Linked DNA regions of Homo sapiens: regions 2, 3, 4, 5 and 6 are each linked to region 1. The links are contacts of gene promoters, found by promoter capture Hi-C in blood cells and fetal thymus (Javierre and others, 2016). All regions are on one chromosome and are shown on one strand. The core of a region is centred on a gene start or on the middle of the fragment in contact, and the rest is flanking DNA. Distances in the headings are between cores, read along the strand shown. Region 1 holds the start of SYT17 (synaptotagmin 17). Region 2 overlaps CCP110 (centriolar coiled-coil protein 110). Region 3 overlaps CCP110 (centriolar coiled-coil protein 110). Region 4 overlaps GDE1 (glycerophosphodiester phosphodiesterase 1). Region 5 overlaps TMC5 (transmembrane channel like 5). Region 6 overlaps TMC5 (transmembrane channel like 5).

Region 1 (2,509 bases), core at 6-2,505:
TGTAAGCTTCTCTGCCCAGCTCAGAGGCGCCAGCGCCAGAAGCAAGCAGCTCAACGGGTCTCACTGCGGGTCTGCCTGCTTGACCTTGGCGCTGACCTGCGGTCACTTCCCTTCTTGCAGAGGAGAAAGGTCTTTTCACCAAGAAGCCCGGCCCACCCCTCCGCCCCCTCCCCCCAAAAAAGGCTGCTTAGAAATTATTTCAGAATTATTTCAGCCCAAGGATTCTTGGGGGACGTTTCTTCAAGGTGAAGAGGGTCCACATCTCCCAGACCCCAATGCAGCGGAGTAAAGTAACAGGCTCCCTTCTCTTCACCAGCGCGCCTCTGGCCTCTGGGTGTCCCCCACCCCTCAGCACCCAGTGCCCAGGAGAGACGACGTCCTTGTCCCTCCTGGTCGGAACAGCTGCCTCAGGCTCGCTCCGCCGGCCAATTAGCCGGAGCCGTCACCACGGCAACGGCAGCTGGCGGGCCGGGTGGCTGGCGCGCCCCGGGCCGCCCTCCCCACGGCCCCTCCCCTGGGGTGGGGTGCCAAGGAGAGGGAGGGGGCAGGGGAGAAGAAAAGTCCGCCCCACCCCCCATTCCCTCCCCAAGAGGCAAGGGCGCGCGTTGCAGAGTACACATAGGACCCTCCATCCCGGGGTTTGGGGGTCCCCAGTCTCTCCTCCCGGGGCGCACCCCTGTTGCTGCACAGGTTGCCCGCGCACGGGCACCCTTTTTCTCGAAGCAAGTTTGTGGGAGCCTAGCCGTGGGCCCTCCCTTCCGCGCGCTCCCAGCCGGAGGGGGCGCGGCACCCCCTACCCGCACCCCGGACCTTGCCCCCAGCCTCAGCCCTACCTGGATGTACGCCATTTTCGCCCGCGCGCACTCACTCCGGCCCGGGCATGGCGCCGCCACGGCCACTTTGCCCTCGCCAACAGCGGAGGGGGAAGAAAGCAAAGGGGGAAAGGAAGAAAAAGGCAGCCGGTGGCCCCAGACGTGACTGGCGTGGCTGATGAGCGGCGCCCGCCCCTCCGCCGGCCGCCCCGTCCTTGCCTTTCCCTGCGTTCCGGCTCTCGGAATCGGGGCCGCCTCCCCGGTTCGGAGATATCGGGCGCCCAGGGCCCCCGCCTCGGCCTCCCTCGCTGTCCCGTGCTCCCCACCGAGGCGCTCCCCAGGCTGGAATAAGGCCGGGGCGCCTGGGCAAGCAGCCCGGGGCAGCTGCGGGGACTGCAGCGACCCCAGCGCAGGCGGGGCCGGAGACGCCGGGGCCGGAGCGCGCAGGAGGCGGGGGAGGGGATGGGAATGGGGAAGGGGGTGGGAGGGGGCGGTACACAGGTCAGCCCATCCTGCTGGCACGGGGGCTGGCACCTACCGAAAGCAGCGCCCCCGGGGCAGCCGTGGAGCCGAGGGGACACAGTGCAGCCTGCCATGAAGTCTGCAGCAGGGAGGGTCCTTCCCATCCAGCCCTCTCCCCAAACTGGGTTGGAAAAACTTTATTCCCGCCCCACCCGACGCGCCTAGCACGGTTGCGGTGAGGCTTGCAGAGGCTGCGTGGATGGGAGCCTCAAGTTAAGGTGGGCGTAGGGCGTCCCAAACGGAGGTGCTGCGTCCAGGGCTGCAGGGGGCGCGCGGAGAGAGCGGAGCGCCCCTTTACCCTAAACCTGCCGGAGTTGCGCCCTGGACGCAACAGGTCTAGCGCGGGGCGGCCCGGCAGCGCCACCCAGCGTCGTGCCCGGCCTCGTGCGCTCCTCTGCCCACGGGCAGGCGGCCGCCAGCGAGCGTGCGCCCCGGGGCGTGTCCACCGCCGCCCTCCTGCCTGTCCTCGTGGCTGGGGCGCCCTGGACCCAGAGGCCTCCATCAAACCTCCCAGCCCAAGGCCTCTGGCTCTCCACTCAGAGATTCGAGGTGGAACATTGCCCTCCGCTGGATTTCTTATTTTATTTTATTTTATTTTATTTTATTTTATTTTATTTTATTTTATTTTATTTTATTTTATTTTTGACACAGGGTGTCACTCTGTCACCCAGGCTGGAGTGCACTGGGGTAATCTTGGCTCACTGAAACCTCCGCCTCCCAGGTTCAAGGGATTCTCGTGTCTCAGCCTCCCGAGTAGCTGGGACTACAGGCACATGCCACCACGCCCACTAATTTTTGTATTTTTGGTAGAGAAAGGGTTTCACCATGTGGGCCAGGCTGGTCTCGAACTCCTGGCCTCAAGTGATCTGCCTGCCTCGGCCTCCCAAAGTGCTGGGATTAGGGGCGTGAGCCACTGCGCCGGGCCGGTTTTCTTTTTAATATGCCCAGTCATCTCCTGTTGCCGGACACCAGCTTATCAGCATTTTAATTTTAACCTCCCAGTGCCTCTTTTTCCTCAGTAAAAACAGGAGAAAATCTCCACCCTGCCTATCCTCCAGGGCTGATTTGTGGGAATAAATGAGAAAATGAATATGGGAGTAACAAAAGATGGATATTCAGATGCATATATTTTTTGTCTAAAAATCTAGCAGACCTATACATTTTTTAGTATGATA
Region 2 (2,509 bases), core at 4-2,503, 380 kb before region 1:
TTCAAAATAATGAACTTCATTGTATGTTACTAACTTCAGTGACTGACTATACATCCTTTATACTGTTGAGTATTGCTGAATAAAAACAGTACTTGCTATTTTGCTTATAAGTTCACAAGTGACAAATAGTGGAGATGAAATGCATGAGAAAAGAACATGGAGAGTAGTCACTGTGGCAAATTGGTATCAGGCAAAACAATACTAATTCCTCAATGATTTTCCAACTTGCTAAGTTTCAGTGCAATATAGAATACTAACATGAGAAAAACAGAAAATGTCTTAAAATTCCACAGGTTTGGTGTTTGGTCTGAGTCCTTTCAAATGGTTATCTTTCAAACTAGCTTATTCTGACTGCCTCTGGAGTAAACAGTATCTTCAGCTATGTAATCCTTTAAGACAATTCCATTAACTGTCACTCACAATGATTTCCAAAGATGATCTTTTAAATTATCCTATATATGTGTGACACTATGAATTACCTTCACTACATACATACAAAAGGTCAGCCATCATTTCAAAGTTACGACCAATAGCTTGTTCCCTCCTAATTTGAAGGAAATCACTTAGTAATAAAGCTCTAAAATTTGCCTAATTGTATATTAATGGAAAGATTAAAATTGATTAAAGGTTTAATCTTCAATGCCTGGTGATTAATTTAGGTTTGTTGTAAATGTCTAGAAAGCAGTATAGTTAAAGCACAACATTTGGAAAGTATTTTTAAATGGATCACATAATTTTTAAGTGAGCTTAATCAAAGTGTCTTAACAAAGATACCTAAAAAATATTAAAGCATTTGGTTAAGAGCTTTGAATTTGCTCAAGAATGAGTTTGTCTTCTTGCCACCATAAACAGAATTTTAAAATACAGTTTTTAGTTTAGCTCTTAATCCTCAAATAATGAACATAAGGAGAGATTTAGCTCAAGCTTTGGACTGAGCAAAATATGAAGCCCTCCTCCCACTGGCATATTCACATGTGATCTTATAGTCTGAGGGAGAAAGTTTATCCCCTTATGTGCAGATACACTTCCCCAAGCTGAACAGACAATGCACAGACTTAGCACCAGAGATGATCGTTATCTTTTATTCATTAAATAAAAAGGTTTTCTGAATTAAGCATGGCAAATTCTACAATTTTTTCAGAATGAAAAATACAAGGTGCTTTCCACAGAAATATTATAGAAATGAAGACTGGAATCACACTTTTACTAAGACTTCCTGACTGCCATACAATGCTAAGACCAAAGAACACTAATAAGATGACTGTGAATATGCCAAAATTATGGTGGCAAGGAAAGACAATCTATTCCACTTCTATGGCCTGAGTTATGGGGCAGCTTGTGCACTTCCTTCTATTGAATGGGCTTCAGGAATTTATTTTCTACAAACCTGAAACAGGCACTCTGTTAGGCACTCTGCTCTGTGAAGGCTTCTGTCTATTTTGCACAACCCCCTTCACTGATGTCTTAGGGGTTCTAATTGAATATAAAAAAATTAATAAGTCACTGGCATTAAGGTCTAAATGTTCAAAATTCAAAGAAAGCAATCACATTGCATCAACTGTCCAAAGCACAAATAAGCTTGAAAAGAACTGAAGTCTCATGCATGCGCACAGTAAGGAAAGCTAAACTCTGGCTTCAGCAGGAGACTATAAGCACGAGTCATACTCTGTTGGAGAATCACTTCGGTGATGCTGAATTTACTATATGGATATTTAAAATACTTTATGAGTAAAATGGTATGAAATGAAAAGTAAAAACATCCCAACTTAAGACAGTAATTAGAATACACAACAGTACACCAAGAGGGTTACATTTGAAGACAAAACTTTAAAATATCTTTCCCAATGCTATAAAGAAAAAAAATCCCATTGAAAAACCATTATCCTTTACATAAAGAACACTAGATTTATTTTTCCCTCTCAAATCTAATCTTGGTTTCCGTAGTTTTCAATACCCGTGTGTGGCATTCTTACCCTTGTCTACTAAGTAGCCTATGAACAGGTGCATTCTGTCCTTGGTTTGGCTGAAGGACTCTGTTGACAAATTAAATGAAAAATTAATTTAATAGGTTAAATTCCATTTTTTCCCATTTTCTTTCAACGGATGAAAGATGATGACTGTAAGGTAAAGGTCAACTATGCAATAATATGGCCTATATATTACCACAAATCAGAGCAAATCGACTAAAGCATATTAATATGATACTTGTATTTTGCTCACTAAGAGTCCAAACCTTAGGTTTTTATCAGCAAAGAAATGTCCAACATATAGACTAACCCTTGTGCTTTTAGATAATTTTCTTATACATATGCTTTACAAAAGCTAACTTTTCCCTTCAAACCAGTGAGAGAAGAAAGTATCACTCTCATTTTACAGGAGTAAAAAACAGGTCAGAAATATTAAAGTTCGCTTTTTAGCTTTATTTTTTATTTATTTATTTTTTTGAGATGGGTCTTACTATGTTACCCATACTGGTTTGAATTTCTGGGCTTAAGCTATCCTCCTGCCT
Region 3 (2,509 bases), core at 4-2,503, 360 kb before region 1:
CTCCTGACCTCAAGTGATACACCCATCTCGGGCTCCCAAAGTGCTGGGATTACATTTTTTTTTTTTGAGAGAGGGTCTCACTCTGTTGCCCAGGCTGTTGTGCAGTGGCTCGATCTCGGCTCACTACCTTTGCCTACTGGGTTCAGTGGATCTTGGCTCACTGCAACCTTCGCCTCCTGGGTTCAAGGGATCCTCCTGCCTCAGCCTCCCACATAGCTGGGATTACAGGCATCCACCACCACGCCCAGCTAATTTTTGTATTTTTAGTAGAGACGGGGTTTCGTCATGTTGGCCAGGCTGGTCTCAGCCTCCCAAAGTGCTGGGATTACAGGCATGAGCCACCCCGCCCAGCCCTATCTTCAAAGAATTCCAAAAATCTTTAACCTGTTTATCAAACTTCACTTCCAGTTCATAGGAACTACAGGGACTAGAGAAACAAGTTAAATAACACTATTAGGAAACAATGGGACAAATCCAAGATCTAAGGAATTCTACAAGACAATAGCTCTGGTCTCTTTAAAAATTCAGTATCATAGTTTTGTTATTTTTTTAAAGACAGTATCTCACTCTGTCACCCAGGTTGGAGTGCAGTGGCATGATCAGGGTTCACCGCAGCCTCAGCCTCCCGGGCTCAGGTGATCCTCCCACCTCAGCCTCTAGAGCAGCTGAGACTCCTGGTGCGCGCCACCACACCCAGCTCTTTTTTGTATTTTTTGTAGGGATGAGATTTCACCACGTTGCCCTGACTGGTCTCAAACTCTGGGGATCAAGCAATGCAATCCACCCACCTCAGCCTCCCAAAGTGCTGGGATTATAGGCGTGAGGCACCATGCTCAACCAATAAAAAAAACTGTTTTTAAGACGTACAGTAGCTATTTTAGATTAAAATAAAGAAACATAACAAGCAAATACTAATTGTGAACTTTGGATCCAGATTGGGGGAATAAAGTTATAAAAGGCATTTTGAGCACAAATGGAAAAATTTAAATATGAACAGAATTATTAGATATTATTAAAAATTATTAGTTTTCTTAAGATGTGATAATGGTATTGGGGCTTTACATAGGAGAATGTCCTTATTTTTAAGAGATGTACACCAAAATATTTAGGGGAGCAGTGTCAGGTCTCCGTGGTTTTCAAATAGCTAGGCAATTTTTAAAAATGTCATATGTACACACACACATAGATGTATATAAAAATCACAAACACAATAAAGCAAAGATGACAACAATGTTAAAAATTATTTAATCTAATGGTAAATCTATGGGTGGTCACTGCACTATCCTTTCAACTTTGCTGTATGTTTGAAAGTTTCATTACAAAAAGTTGGCAGTTAGCTCTGGTGTCTTTAAAAATTCAATTCAATTAATTAAAATTAATCTCTTAACTCCTGTTATACCAAAAAATAAATTTAAAGCTCACTTTTTTCTAATATTAGTTTGTGATTTAAAATAAAGTCATATGCATTTTTAAAATATCCAATTAGTATCAAAGGGTGTATGATGAAGTGTCTTCCCTATTATCCTATATTCTCTCACCACTCCCCAGAAAAGGAATAGCCATCCTTTGAAAAACCCAAATGGTTAACTTATATTGGGTACCTCTTATGATCCAGGTGGTATTCTAACCATTTTATATCTACGAATTCATTTAATCTTCAAAATAGCCTTATGAGGTAGGCACTATTTTATCCCCATTTAACAAATAAGAAAATGGACCACAAGTTTACACAGCAAGTAAGTAGCAAAGCAATGATTTGGACCCAGGCCAGAAGGCTCCACAGCCTAGACTTTTTTTTTCCTTCTTTTGGGATAGGGTCTTGCTCTGTTAGCCCAGGCTGGAGTTTTTTTCCTTCTTTTGGGATAGGGTCTTTCTCTGTAGTCCAGGCAATGATGCAATCCTGACTCACTGCAGCCTGCAACTCCTAGGTTCAAGCGATCCTTCCGCCTTAGCCTTTGAAGAGCTGGGACTACAGGCACATGTCACTGCGCCAGGCTAATTTTTTAACATGTTTTTATAGAGATGAGGTCTCACTATGTTGACCAGGCTAGTCTTGAATTCCTGGTCTCAAGCAATCCTCTTCCTTCCGGTCTCTCAAAGCATTGGGACTATAGGTGTGAGCCACTGTGCCTGGCCCAGAGTCTGGACCTCTAATCATGACTCTATACTGCCCCTGACAGCATGCTGCACACGGTGTTTTACACTAGATCATTGAGATCCTTCCATGCCTCAACATTTACATCTGCCTTACTGTAATGGTATGTATGAGAGTTTATAAAATAGACCATAGTTAAACTACTCCACTACTGATGGACATTTAGGTGGTTCGTCAACCTTTGCTATTTTAAACAATGCTAATGTAACTTTGTACTTATTTCTTTGGGCTCACATATAATTGTAGGATATACCCAAAAATGGAACTGCTGACCCAAAGGCTATGTATGCTTTTAAATTCTACCAAACTGCTCATCTAGAAATAAAATAAACTGATTCTCTTAGCAAAAGTGCA
Region 4 (2,509 bases), core at 8-2,507, 340 kb before region 1:
TCAACACAAAATGGATTAAAAGTTTAAATTTAAGACCAGAAACTATAAAACTACTAGAAGAAAACACAGGGGAAAAGCTCTGGGACATTGATCTAGGCAAAGATTTTATGGCTAAGACCTCAAAAGCACAGGCAACAAAAACAGGCAAATGTGACTATATTAAACTAAAAAGCTTCTGCACAGCAAAGGAAATAATCAACAGAGTAAAAAGAAAACCTGTTGAATAGGAGAAAATATTTGCAAACTATTCAACAGACAAGTAACTAATATCCAGAATATACAAGGAACTTAACAGCAAAAACAATAATAATCCCATTAAAAACATCTATTCAAATCCTAATTTGAATAAACATTTTTCAAAAGAGGACACACAAATGGCCAACAGGCATATGAAAAAACACCACAAATTATTAGGGAAATGCAAATCAAAACCACAATGAAGTACCATCTTATCTAGTTAGAATGGCCATTATTTAAAAGATTTTTAAAATAACAGATGCTGGCGAGGATACAGAGCAAAAGGAACTCTTATATTCTGTTGGTGGGAATGTAAATTAGTACAGCCATTATGGAAAACAGTATGGAGGTTTCTCAAAAAACTAAAAATATAGAACTACCATACAATCCAGTAATCCCACTAGTTGGTATCTATCCAAAAGAAAGGAAACTAGTGTATCAAAGGCATACTTGCACCCCCATGTTTATTGCAACACTATTCACAATAGCCAAGATACAGAATCAACCTAAGTGTTCATCAGTGGATGAATGGATAAACTGTGGTAAATATACTCAATGGAATACTATGTAGTTAGCCATAAAAAAGGATGATATCCTGTCATTTACAGCAACATGGATGGAACTGAAGGTATTATGTTAAATGAAATAAGATAAGCCAGGCACAGAAAGGCAAATATTACATGTTGTCACTCATATATGGGAGCTAAAAAAGTTGATCTCATGGAGGTAGAGAGGAGAATGATAGTTACCAGAGGCTGGGAAGGGTTTGGGGTTGGGGGAAGAGGAGAATAAGGAGAATTTGGTTAATGAGTACAAACATACAGTTCGATAGAAGGTATAAATTCTAGTGTTCAATAACATAGTAAAGTGATTATAGTTAACAATCTGTTGTATATTTCAAAATAGCTAGGAGATTTAGATGTTCCTAACACAAAGAAATGATAAATATTTGGGGTGATGGACATCCTAAATACCCTGATTTTATCATTATACATTATGCGCATATCACAAAAATATGTCTAAGTGTATAGCAATAAAAATGTGGAAAAAAGAATATCTATAATTTGGTTCAAATTATTACAGTAGGACAGGCGCAGTGGCTCACACCTGTAATCCTAGCACTTTGGGAGGCCAAGGCAGGTAGATCACTTGAGGTCAGGAGTTCAAGACCAGCCTGGCCACCATGGTGAAACCCCGCCTCTACTAAAAACACAAAAAATTAGCCAGGCGTGGTGTCACACGCCTGTAGTCCTAGCTACTTGGGAGGCTGGGGCGGGAGAATTGCTTGAACCTGGGAGTTGGTAGTTCCAGTGAGCTGAGATTGCACCACTGCACTCCAGGCTGGGCAACAGAGCAAGACTCCGTCTCAAAAAAAAAAAAAAAAATCTTAAAGTAAAGTATCTTTGGACTTTGCTATGGTCGAAAAAAGGAAGTTGGAGAAAACACTCTTTCCTTTTGATTGAGAGACATATGCAAAATGTTTGTTGCAATACAGTTTATCTGTTTCTCTTTTTTCCTACAACGTATTTTCTCTTCTCTTACAGGAATGATTTCCCTGATGAAAAGATCCCTACCCTAAGGGAAGCTGTTGCAGAGTGCCTAAACCATAACCTCACAATCTTCTTTGATGTCAAAGGCCATGCACACAAGGTACAGTTTAAATTGTGGACTTCACTTTGTTAAAAAGACATCTTATTTCATTGACGGTCATTTCCGAAGTTACATATATTTTGTTATTTATTCTTTTTAAAACTTATTTTTATAAATTGTATTTGTTTAATGGAAGTGTACAATGCAGGAATCTATATCATTTAAGGAAACAGTGCATTATGGAACTTTTTAACCTTTTATGGAAACTTTACAAAACCAGCATAAAATGGAAGAGTCAAGTTTCTATTATTTACATAAAGCATTTACAAAAGATATTAAGTAAACAGTAAAAAAGACATTTCTAGAAAAAAACCACTGTAGTAACCTTGAGTTACTTGAAAAAAAGGAATTCCGAAGTTGTACACAAGACCAATTTTATCTAGCTTAAAAGTTAAGGGCCTTATATGGACAACTATGGACTGCATTTAAAGAGAATTCCTATATTAAAAGCTTCTAATAGTTAACAGAACATATACCTTTTACATAGATTTATCCCTTTGTATAATTTATATCCCTTATGTATAGTTTTTTATTCATTGATTTTAGCAGTTATACTTTTATCAGAAAATCATTTATTTTCTTCAAATGTATTTGACATTCCTAGATAAAATTTTGCTTAAAT
Region 5 (2,509 bases), core at 4-2,503, 320 kb before region 1:
TGAGGTTGCAGCAAGCCATGACCATGCCGCTACAGTCTAGCCTGAGTGAGAGATCATGACCCTGTCTCAACCAAAAAAGAAAGAGAGAAGTAAGGAAGGAAGGAAGGAAGGAGAAGGGGAAGGGAAGGGAAGGGAGGGGAAGGGGAAAGGAAGGGAAGGGAGGGGAAGGGAGAAAGAAGGGGAAGGGAAGGGAGGGGAAGGGAGAAAGAAGGAAGGAAGGAAGGAAGAAAAAATGAAGAGGAAAGGAACGGAACTGAAAGGAAAGGGAAGGGAGAAAGGGAGAAAGAGAGGGAGGGAGGGGAAGGGAAGAGAAGAGAAAAGAAAAAAAGGAAGGGAAGGAAGGAAGGAAGGAAGGAAGGAAGGAAGGAAGGAAGGAAGGAAGGAAAGAAAACTACCTATGCAAGGGTAGAGTCACCCAGAACACTGAGCTATGCTATAGCCATTTGCTTTCCAACCAAACATCCCTACTGCTGTTTCCCTCGAGAGCTCCTGGCTTTCCCTGCTAGATTCCCCGGGTACCACACTCACAGCACAATGAGGGTGAGGATGAAAAAGAAGTGCACACTTCCAATGAGGTTCCGATAGATCCAAACAACCCACAGGTAGCCAGGCCGTGTACTTAGGGTGTCGATCCAGCTGTAGATGGAGTGAATGAAGAGAGGCAGACCTCGAAAAGGGCCACAGTCAGCTGAAGGCTTCAATCTGGTAAAACAAAGATGGAAGAACATCTCTAGCACAAGACTCAGGGATGGTTATTCTAGAATCAGGGTGTCCCTTCTGGGCTCTGGGCCTGAAAACATCAAGTCTTGCCTGATCCAATCACACCCACTTCCCAAAGAAACCCTCTTGCTCTCAGCCTTGCTGGGGTGACCTGTACTCTAAGGACCTGCTCTCAGATCAGAGCTGACCCAACAGCAGCCAATCCAAAGGCCAAGCAGTGACTTCTGCAGTAACTTGGCTCAATGATATGAATGGGGGCAGTCAGACTTTTTTTCTTAAGAAGTTGAATTAAGGCCAGGCACTATGGCTCATGCCTCTAATCCCAACAGTTTGGGAGGTCAAGGTGGGAGGATTGCTTGAGCCCAGAAGTTCAAGACCAGCCTGGGCAACATAGTGAGACTCCATCTCTACAAAAAAATAATTAGCTGGGCATGGCAGCACATGCCTGTGGTCCTGGCTACATAGGAGGCTGAGGTGGGAGGATCACTTGAGCCCAGGAGGTTGAGGCTATAGTGAGCTGTGATCACACCACTGTACTTCAGCCTGGGCAACAGAGCAAGACCCTGTCTGAAAAAAAAAAAGAAATGAAATTAAAGACAAGTATGGTGGCTCGCCTGCAATTCCAGCACTTTGAGAGGCCAAGGCAGAAGGATCTCTTGAGGCCAAGAGTTCGAGACCAGCCTAGGCAACATAGCAAGACACCCATTTCTAAAAAAAAAAAAAAAAAAAAAATTAGCCAGGCATGCCAGGCGCGGTGGCTCATGCCTGTAATCCCAGCACTTTGGGAGGCCGAGGCGGGTGGATCACAAGGTCAGGAGATCAAGACCATCCTGGCTAACACGGTGAAACCCTGTCTCTACTAAAAATACAAAAAATTAGCTGGGCGTGGTGGCGGGCGCCTGTAGTCCCAGCTACTCAGGAGGCTGAGGCAGGAGAAGGGCGTGAACCTGGGAGGCGGAGCTTGCAGTGAGCCGAGATTGCGCCACTGCACTCCAGCCTGGATGACAGAGTGAGACTCTGTCTCAAAAAAATAAAAAATAAAAAAATAATTAGCCAGGCATGGTGATGTGTGCCTATAGTCCCAGCTACTCGGGAGGCTGAGGTGGGACAATCACGTGAGCCCAGGAGTTTGAGCTGTGATTGCGCCCCTGCATTCCTGCCTGGGTGGCAGAGCAAGGCCCTGTCTCAAAGAAAGAAATTGAATTAAGAAGCATAAAGAGGGAAGCCTGTTAGCTATGGAGGAATGAGCAGAAACTATAGGGCAACAAGGAACTGGTGAGGAAGAGAGAGAAGAGAGTGGATATGCCAAGAGGAGCAAGGGCGTTGTGGAGCAAGGAAGAGAGAGAAGAGAGTGGATATGCCAAGAGGAGCAAGGGTGTTGTGGAGCAAGGAACTGAGAGCCCCAGTTTCACATGTGTCCTAAAAATCATCTCCCTTGTTCATTAATTCATTCAATTGTTCATTCAACCATGGCTTATTCTGTTAAGCACTGTTCTAGTCAGGCTCTGGGGACTTCATATTAAGCAAGTTCCTGCCCTATTGGGATTACATTCTGGTGGGAAAAACGGACAATCGTTGAGTAACAATTAAAGACTCACACAGAGGCATTCCTGATTATGAATGATAGAATGAAGGAAAGAAACTCAGGTCTGAGAGAGAGAAGCAGTGGGGAACTGAGAGCAGACAAGGAGGGCTGTGAAGATCAGATCTTGGAGAGGGCCTTGGAGCTGAGAATCAGAGGGTGGAGAGGAGGCAGCCAAGCAAAGGGAGTGGGAAAAGGACTTCACTC
Region 6 (2,509 bases), core at 7-2,506, 260 kb before region 1:
GGTTCAAGCGAGTCTCCTGCCTCAGCCTCCCAAGTAGCTGGGATTACAGGCACCTGCCACCATGCCCAGCTAATTTTTTGTATTTTTAGTAGAGACGGGGTTTCAGTATGTTGGCCAGGCTGCTACCGAAGTCCTGACCTCAGGCAATCCACCCACCTTGGCCTCCCAAAGTGCTGGGATTACAGGTGTGAGCCACCGCGCCCGGCCCCCACGTTTTATCTTCTAACGGGGTGAACTTTGTCATGAAAACCCATGATTAACCTCTTAACATAAATGAAATCAATGTTCTATATGCTAGTGATGATCCTGTAAATAATGTAAGATCCCTACATACTTAAGACCCACAGTTAAAATTATGAAAATGATTCTACAGAAGTTTTTAACTAGTTCCAATGAACCATCATTTATTTGACTTAAAACAGACCAAATAATTTTTAAAAAATTGTTTTTGTTGTGGCGCGTGCCTGTAATCTCAGGTACTCAGGAGGCTGAGGCAGGAGAATTGCTTGAACCAGGGAGTGGGAGGTTGCAGTGAGCTGAGACCGTGCCACTGCACTCCAGCCTGGCGACAGAGCGAGATTCAGTCTCAAAAAAAAAAAAAAAAATTGTTTTTATTGCAGAGAGTGGAGAGAAGGAAAGAAATTAGTCCCAATAAAATTCTGTTTTGCCATCTAAGGATATTAAAGGCAATGGCAGCTATCACAATTGACTATCACCATTATCTCATAAAACATTTTATGGACTTAAAAAAAAGAGAGGGAGACCCCATCTCAAAAAGAAGGGTAGTTTATTTAACCGAATAAATTCAGCTGTATGAAAACTTACTTTTTTGCCCTTATTGTTCTTGCTTTGTCCCAAGTAGATGCAAATGTTGTGCAAACCAACTTGATCTTAAGATGTTGTTGAGAACACTGGAGTCACGTGTCCATGGGTCCTTCAGGCTGGCTTTTGATGGGAGCTGGGATGCAGATGATTTACGGAGGGTTATAATCTGTGATGCTGGTCTGAAGTCTGAATATTCCAAGTTGCTGACTGCAGGCAGAGCCTCATGTCCTGAAAATCAGAAGACAGAGGACTTAAACTTCCATAAAAGATGGGCTCATACTGTACAACCCAATCCTGTGCATTTGGAAGCAGAAAACACTGCCTCAAATGGCTTCCTGTTTTCTCTTCTCTTAAAAACTTGAAACATTAGACTACAGTGAAGCATAGAGAAGAAAAGGTCAAATATTAACTCATACTAATCTTTTTCATATGAATTCCAGACTTGCATTTGTTTTCTTAAGGAAATAAAACATTTCTGGTGAAGCTCTCTAATACCTCTTCCTAATCCAATTTTCCAGTGTCCTCTTCCCTGTCTGGAAGGTGCCACTATCGTAAATGTGGTGTGTGACTTTCCAGGGCATATGCTGTTCATACCGTGACCACTGTTATGAGTTGAGTTGCATCCCCTCAAAAAGGTATGTTCAAGTCCCAGTCCGCAGTACTTCAGAATGTGACCTGATTTCTAAGTAGGATCTCGGTGGAGGTAATCAAGTTAAAATAAGTTCACTGGGGTGGGACCTAATGCAACATGACTGGTGTCCTTATAAAAAGGGGAACTTTGGGCCAGGCACAGTGATTCCCGCCGTAATCCCAGTACTTTGGGAGGCCGAGGCAGGTGGATCACCTGAGGTCAGGAGTTCAAGACTGGCTAATTCTAAAAATTCTTGAAAGGCTATGAAAAAGAATTTAAAAAAGAAGAAATCGCTCATTCCCAGGCACCTCATTTCAACCAAAGTTTCACATTAGCGGTTCTGGAAGCTCCCATTCTTTTTGCAGGCACCTGATCTTGGACAGACAACTCCAACACAAGGATGATGGCCCCCACACATGGACGAGTGGTTGCCAGAGCACCAGGTCATGGGACGCTCACACACAGGCACATTTCAGCAGAGACATTGATTTCGTTTGCTTGCCTGCTCTTGATTGCTCTTTCTGGGAATGTGTATTAGTGTAATGATTACTTTGGCTGTCAGCCTCGATGCCATGACAAATAAATGCCAGGAACTCCTTTATCTGCAGTGTGTAATGTTTAGGACCAGGAAATAAAGGTAATGTCAATAGTCTCTAAATAGCAAGTGAGAGCAATAGCTTCCATCACTCAATTAACAAAGCCTTCCTGTAAATAAACATTTGTTAGTATTGAGATCCATGTTGGCTTTTCAGAGTGTCAGGCACATTCACAGCCATACACTTAGACTCCTTGGAGCCTAAGAAAATGAGGCCTATGCTTAGAAAATAAGGTCTGTGGTTTCAAGACAGCAAGATCAAACCTATGAATAGGAAAATAAAAATACTGGTCGGGCATGGTGGCTCATGCCTGTAATCCCAGCACTTTGGGAGGCTGAGATGGGCAGATCACTTGAGGCCAGGAATTGGAGACCAGCCTGACTAACATGGCGAAAACCCATCTCTACTAAAAATAAGAAAATGAGCCAGGCGTGGTGGCTCGCACCTGTAATCCCAA

The links. The method cuts DNA at HindIII sites, captures the fragments that hold promoters and counts their contacts. A CHiCAGO score of 5 or more calls a contact.
Region 2: a fragment that was not itself captured here is called in contact with the fragment with the promoter of SYT17 in region 1 in 3 of 17 cell types (monocytes, M0 macrophages and M1 macrophages); the score reaches 7.4 in monocytes.
Region 3: a fragment that was not itself captured here is called in contact with the fragment with the promoter of SYT17 in region 1 in 2 of 17 cell types (monocytes and M1 macrophages); the score reaches 5.2 in monocytes.
Region 4: a contact is called between a fragment that was not itself captured here and the fragment with the promoter of SYT17 in region 1, in 8 of 17 cell types (M0 macrophages, M1 macrophages, monocytes and 5 more). The highest score is 16.9, in M0 macrophages.
Region 5: a contact is called between a fragment that was not itself captured here and the fragment with the promoter of SYT17 in region 1, in 5 of 17 cell types (M0 macrophages, M1 macrophages, M2 macrophages and 2 more). The highest score is 10.5, in M0 macrophages.
Region 6: a fragment that was not itself captured here is called in contact with the fragment with the promoter of SYT17 in region 1 in 4 of 17 cell types (M1 macrophages, M2 macrophages, monocytes and 1 more); the score reaches 9.9 in M1 macrophages.

Annotation. Positions count from the first base shown.
Region 1 is chr16:19,166,986-19,169,494 of GRCh38, reverse strand. SYT17 (synaptotagmin 17) reads right to left here and starts at 1,255. Exons shown (of 8, transcript NM_016524.4): 1 at 834-1,255. The coding sequence starts at 848. RefSeq lists an enhancer at 671-1,418 and a silencer at 1,610-1,859. The HindIII fragment of the contact is 5,386 bases long and covers 9-2,509 here.
Region 2 is chr16:19,547,479-19,549,987 of GRCh38, reverse strand. It overlaps CCP110 (centriolar coiled-coil protein 110), which reads right to left. Exons shown (of 14, transcript NM_001323572.2): 13 at 1,974-2,033. Among named protein-coding and RNA genes, the nearest start is that of VPS35L, 7.0 kb to the left of the region's middle. The HindIII fragment of the contact is 654 bases long and covers 927-1,580 here.
Region 3 is chr16:19,528,240-19,530,748 of GRCh38, reverse strand. The region is part of intron 2 of CCP110 (centriolar coiled-coil protein 110); the gene reads right to left. Among named protein-coding and RNA genes, the nearest start is that of CCP110, 5.6 kb to the right of the region's middle. The HindIII fragment of the contact is 6,012 bases long and covers 1-2,509 here.
Region 4 is chr16:19,510,217-19,512,725 of GRCh38, reverse strand. It overlaps GDE1 (glycerophosphodiester phosphodiesterase 1), which reads left to right. Exons shown (of 6, transcript NM_016641.4): 3 at 1,782-1,887. Among named protein-coding and RNA genes, the nearest start is that of GDE1, 11 kb to the left of the region's middle. The HindIII fragment of the contact is 2,165 bases long and covers 175-2,339 here.
Region 5 is chr16:19,488,588-19,491,096 of GRCh38, reverse strand. It overlaps TMC5 (transmembrane channel like 5), which reads right to left. Exons shown (of 22, transcript NM_001261841.2): 18 at 529-702. Among named protein-coding and RNA genes, the nearest start is that of TMC5-AS1, 1.9 kb to the right of the region's middle. RefSeq lists an enhancer at 2,401-2,509. The HindIII fragment of the contact is 2,926 bases long and covers 1-2,509 here.
Region 6 is chr16:19,428,957-19,431,465 of GRCh38, reverse strand. TMC5 (transmembrane channel like 5) reads right to left here. Exons shown (of 22, transcript NM_001261841.2): 2 at 826-1,053. Among named protein-coding and RNA genes, the nearest start is that of TMC5, 12 kb to the right of the region's middle. The HindIII fragment of the contact is 3,518 bases long and covers 1-2,509 here.